2 separate regions of the Homo sapiens genome follow, and region 1 is linked to region 2. The links are contacts of gene promoters, found by promoter capture Hi-C in blood cells and fetal thymus (Javierre and others, 2016). All regions are on one chromosome and are shown on one strand. Each heading gives the region's core, a stretch centred on a gene start or on the middle of the fragment in contact. The rest is flanking DNA. Distances are from core to core; before and after follow the strand shown. Region 1 has its middle 12 kb from the start of RNASE10. Region 2 holds the start of RNASE11 (ribonuclease A family member 11 (inactive)).

Region 1 (2,985 bases), core at 247-2,746, 94 kb before region 2:
AGGTGGAGTATAAAAGAATACAAATCAACAAACATGCTAATGTATTTTAAGAAGGAGATAGGAGAGTTTGGAAATTGGAAAGGGAAATTCTAAATTTTGAGAATTGCTTTCTACTAAACCATCATTGTCCAGGAGTAACACACTAGCTCACTTCTTAATTTCAAGTCAGAAACATTTTCCCAAGCTTATCCTGGCCCGAAGGAACTGTGACGCTGCTGACCACTGATGCTCACCAAGCAATCATCTCTTTGAGGTTTGGTCTCCCACTTGAGTCAGGGAGAGAATGTATGGGGCAGGTTTATTTTCACTGCACATATTTTTCAATGTAGATCTTGTTCATAGTTTTAACTGGGGATTGGTTGGTGTGAGTAACTCGCATGAAACTGAAAAATGCGCTGGACACAGTGGTTCATGCCTGTAATCCCAGCACTTTGGGAGGCTGAGGCAGGCAGATCACCTGAGGTCAGGAGTTCAAGATGACCCTGGCCAAAATGGTGAAACCCCATGTCTACTAAAAATACAAAAATTAGCCAGGTGTGGTGGCGGGTGCCTGTAATCCCAGCTACTTGGGAGGCTGAGGCAGGAGAAGCTTGAACTCGGGAGGTGGTGGTTGCAGTGAGCCGAGATCACGCCACTGCACTCCAGCCTGGGCGACAAGAGTGAGACTCCATCTCAAAAAAAAAGAAACTGAAAAACTCAGATAAGATCAAGTTTGCACCTGTAAGTTGTGGATAGGATCCAATGTATCTTGGATAATTGTGCAGCCTCCACCTCCTGAAACCCTTTCTGGGTGTCCATCTGGTTTTTTTGGACATGGTCCCCCAGATACATTTGCTAAGTTACAACTATATCTTAACAAATATTTATAGGGACCTATGGGGGCTGGGAATAATAAAAAGGGTCTAATAGGTTGGGCAACCCCATCTCTACATCTCTACAAAAAATTAAAACATTAGCTGGATATGGTGGTGCCCACCTGTACTCCCAGCTACCTGGGAAGGAATTTTTAAAATTTTATTTAAAAAAAGGAAAGAAAAAAGAACCCATGATGATCAAAAGATTAGAAGCTACCAGTTTAGCTGGTACATCTTCTTCAGACTTTAGTGGTTTTGTCATTTGGATTGAACGCAGTTCCCACTGAAACTTATTTGGCCACTATCTGAAGTTGAAATATCACACAGTGACAATTGTTTGAAAATTTCAGCTCCCCTTCTCCTGCCTCCTCTTCATCTCTAAGTATTTTCACTCCCATCTACTCATGGCAGTATCTGGCCACTGCCCATTCTCAGACCAGAAAGGGATCAGGAAAAGGCCAGTGTGTGGGGTGAGGCTGACTTCCAACAGTTGAGCTAGTACAGAGCCACTGAGCATTTCCCTCCCTAGGGCTCACTCTTCCTCAAAACTGCTAGTGTCTTGCAGATCCTCTCTCAAAACAAAAGAGGAAGTCAGAGGTGGAGCAGGGAGTGGTTTGAACTACTGGTTTTACTGGAAAAGGATTCCTGTTCCAAACCTCAAGAGCAAGTTCTTCGATCTTGAGCAGGAAAGAATTAAGGACAGGGCGCAGAGTACAGTATAGTTAAAACAGTTCATTAGAAACTACTCTATTACAGAGTAGGGCATCCTCAGAGAGCAAGAGGAGGAATGCCCCTACTTTAAATGTAATGCTTGCTTATACAGGATATTAAGGTTAAGAATAGTTTACTTTGGGAGTCCGAGGTGGGTGGATCACGAGGTCAGGAGATCAAGACCATCCTGGCTAACACGGTGAAACCCCATCTCCACTAAAAATACAAAAAATTAGCCGGGCATGGTGGTGGGCACCTGTAGTCCCAGCTACTCGGGAGGCTAAGGCAGGAGAATGGCATGAATCCGGGTGGCGGAGCTTGCAGTGAACCGAGATTGCGCCACTGCACTTCAGTCTGGGCAACAGAGCCAGACTCCATCTCAAAAAAAAAAAAAAAAAAAAAAAAAAGAATAGTTTACTTTATTATAAAGGCTTGTGATCAAGTTGTGACAGGCTATTAGTATTGTTATTCTCCGGTGTAACTATTGATTTCAGCAATAATTTATGAGTGTAGTATTATCTTTAAAGTGAAACCCATGTTTATTTTTATGTGTTTATTTGCTTACACCTTCACCACCACAAGAAACCCTCCCACCCACCTTTTTTTTTAAGACAGAATTTCACTCTTGTCGCCCAGGCTGGAGTGCAGTGGTGCGATCTTGGCTCACTGTAGCCTCCACCTCCTTGACTCGATCCTCTTTGATCCTCTGGATTCTCTCACCTCAGTCTCCATGCCCAGCTAATTTTTATTTTTATTTTTTTATAGAGATAGGATTCTACCATGTTGCCTGTCACGTGTGTCCGTGTGAAGAGACCACCAACGGGCTTTGTGTGAGCAATAAAGCTTTTTAATTACCTGGGTGCAGGCGGACTGAGTCCAAAAAAGGAGTCAGCAAAGGGAGATGGGGTGGGGCTGTTTTATAGGATTTGGGTAGGTAGTGGAAAATTACAGTCAAAGGGGATTGTTCTCTGGCGGGCAGGGGTGGGGGTCACAAGGTGCTCAGTAGGGGAGCTTCTGAGCCAGGAGAAGGAATTTCACAAGGTAATGTCATCAGTTAAGGAAGGAATCGACTGTTTTCACTTCTTTTGTGATTCTTCAGTTGCTTCAGGCCATCCGGATACTTACACGTGCAAGCTTGGGCTCAGACGCCTGACATTGCCCATGGCTGGTTTGAACTCCTGAGATCAAGCAATCTAACTGCCTTGGCCTCCTGAAGTGCTGGGATTACAGGTGTGAGCCACCATGCCATCCAAGAAACCCATTTTTAAACTAAGAATGCCTTTTTCCATCAACTCATTTCCTCAACCATAAACATTTTGTGATTAACAGTGCCCAATTTCCTGGGAAAGTAACCCAGCAGGTTTGGCTTCATCTGGCCTTTATTCAAGATGAGTCACTCTGATTGGGACACCTCGAATAC
Region 2 (2,840 bases), core at 220-2,719:
GGATTATTGATAGATTATTAAGAATTAAGTATATGTGTCCAGGTGTGTGTCCAAGGATGCCTTGACCAAAGACCTGATACATTTTGAAGGCAGAAAGGATGAGGGATTTATAGGGAATTTATTTTGTTTCCTAAACTTCTATATCCTATACCATTGACATCAGTAGTGAGGTGACAATAGGGAAACAGAAAGACCAGGAGGAGAAAGATAAACAGGAAGAAGAGCAGGGCAGAAATTTCCAGTCTTTCTGAGACATATATTTCAAGTGGGCAGCATTCACAGCTGCCTAGGTTTTATTTGAAACTGCTAAGAGGTGCCCTTTAAAAAAATATACCTGGCTGGGCACAGTCACTCATGCCTGTGGTCTCATTGCTTTGGGAGGCCAATGCGGGAGGATCACTTGAGGCCAGAAGTTCAAGACCAGCCTAGGCAACATAGTGAGAATCCATCTCTACAACAACAACAACAACAAAAAGCCAGTTGTGGTGGCATATGCCTATAGTCCCAGCCACTCGGGAGGCTGAGAGGAGAGGATTTCTTGAGCCCAAAAGTCTGAGACTGCAGTGAGCTGTGATCACACAACTGCACTCCATCCTGGGCAACAGAATGAGACTCTGATCCTATATATCTGTATAATATATATGTATATACATATTTAGATACAGATAGATAGATATAGATACACACACACCCAAACTACGAATGTCTAAAATGTCACAATTCATTTGAATTTGGTGTTGATCCCTATTGAATGAAATTACTCTGAGGATACATCCTATTGGTTCATCTCAGTTATACTTTTATCTGCAAGATATTTTTAATTAGAAAGGAGGAGCTTCGGTGAAGAAGGGGAGAAAAAGCACTGAAAAGGAAAGAAAAGACAACAAAACCTAGGGAGAGGGATAGAAAAAGGAATCAGAATTCAGAAAATAGATGTAGGAACCTAAAGGATGCATTTCATCCACTTCAAAGTTTTGCCCAAAAAATGATGCTACCAAGGCCCAACAAATCATGTGCTAGGGACCACCTACCTGTTCCTGTTCAGTTTCTATTCAGATGCTGAGGGCTCTGTTTACCTGGTGACACCCAAAATTCTATGGAGACAACAATGACAACAGAATTACCACAGAGAACTAGAAAATGAAACTCAGCTGAAAAACGGCCACCTAAGATGGAAGAAGCCATGAGATGAGTAAGCGTTGCCTACTCACAAGGTTGCAAACTGTCCTTCACTTACGATTATCCCCCAACGCCCCCTCCTAAATCTGATCAATCGCATGGAACTTGATGGTTACAAAAGACAGAGCTAACAACTAGCGTAAGTGCACCTTCTTCTTTGACATGACCTTGAACTAAGTCCAAATGAGCAATGAACAGCTGAAGTCTCTCAACTGAAAAGATCAGGACAGAGAGTGCTCTCCAAAGCCTGTGACCCACCCATGCCTGCTCTAGGTCACTGTATGAGTCTCTAGCTCTCACATACAGGATTGAAATGCCATAGCTCAGAATTAGTGACAACATAATCTGGCCTTTATTTGCCAATTGCCCCTTATTTCTTACTACCTCACAATACAAATTCTCCCCTCCAACAATGGCTATAATATAGCCATTTTCTGTACTACTTAAGAAATAGAATTATAGACTAATAGACTTGGAAAGAACTTGAAAGATTATCTAATTCAAGATCCTCACTTTACAGACAAGGAAACTAATGAATAGAGAAGAAGAGGACTTCATGAAATCCCCAGAATTAGAAATCTCTCTTTCTCGTCCTTCTCCTTCTAGCTGTAAGGATACTATGCCCATAGCTGAATGTGGGGAAACTAAGCAGTAAGTCCAATTGTAAGAACTAAAAAGAGAAAAGAGTTAGTAGTCCGGCTCAAAGTCCTCTCTGTTCCTTCTGGAGACACAAAGAGGAGGTCACTGAGCTCTGAAAGTCTCAATCCCTCCCTGGGAAATCCTTATCTGTGTCTCTCTAAAGTCTTTAAGGGAAATGGTTTCAGACCAGTCAGGCTCCTTTCTTTATTTCAAGACACAAAGGGAGCTGCTGAACAGGAACAGATGCTGCCTGAGTTGTATATGCTATCTTTAAAAAAGACCCTAAGAGGTGACCTCTGTTGCTTCTACAGCTAGAAGCAGAGCTAGGATTAGGCTGAGGTTAATGAGACACTCACTCTAAGACCAAAATTTAAGAGAGTGCCACAAAACTCAATAATCAAGATAAATAATATTTTAATGCAACAATTTTAGAAAATATTTATTTATTTATTTTTGAGACAGAGTCTTGCTCTGTTGCCCAGGCTGGAGTGCAATGGCATGATCTCGGCTCACTGCAACCTCCACCTCCCAGGTTCAAGCGCTCCTCCTGTGTCAGCTTCCCAAGCAGCTGGGATTACAGGCGTGCACCACCACACCCAACTAACTTTTGTATTTTTAGTGGAGAGGAGGTTTCACCATGTTGGCCAGGCTGATCTCAAACTCCTGACCTCAAGTGTTCCACCTGCCTCAGCCTCCCAAAGTGCTGGGATTACAGGCATGAGCCACCACGCCTGGCCAGAAAATAAATTTAATGCAAAATAATCCCTGATGAACAAATGTTAAAATTTTAAATACCAGGATCTGGCCCTGCACTACGTTTCTCACATAACTCATCTTACCCTGATCCTAGCCTTGTCAGATTGGATCTTCAAAATTTTGTGATAGATATTTTGAGCATCCAAGATTTCTTTTTTTTTTTTTTTGAGACGGAGTCTCACTCTGCCGCCCCGGCTGGAGTGCAGTGGCGCGATCTCGGCTCACTGCAACTCCGCCTCCTGGGTTCACGCCATTCTCTTGCCTCA

Evidence for each region. Contacts are between HindIII fragments. The CHiCAGO score rates a contact against its expected background, and 5 or more counts as called.
Region 1: a contact is called between a fragment that was not itself captured here and the fragment with the promoter of RNASE11 in region 2, in 1 of 17 cell types (M2 macrophages). The highest score is 5.2, in M2 macrophages.

The regions. Positions count from the first base shown.
Region 1 is chr14:20,492,419-20,495,403 of GRCh38, forward strand. No RefSeq gene overlaps it. Among named protein-coding and RNA genes, the nearest start is that of RNASE10, 12 kb to the right of the region's middle. The HindIII fragment of the contact is 1,819 bases long and covers 588-2,406 here.
Region 2 is chr14:20,586,532-20,589,371 of GRCh38, forward strand. It overlaps RNASE11 (ribonuclease A family member 11 (inactive)), which reads right to left and starts at 1,470. Exons shown (of 3, transcript NM_001394190.1): 1 at 1,329-1,470; 2 at 1,032-1,094. RNASE11-AS1 (RNASE11 and RNASE12 antisense RNA 1) reads left to right here and starts at 1,693. Exons shown (of 5, transcript NR_122043.1): 1 at 1,693-1,787. The HindIII fragment of the contact is 10,143 bases long and covers 1-2,840 here.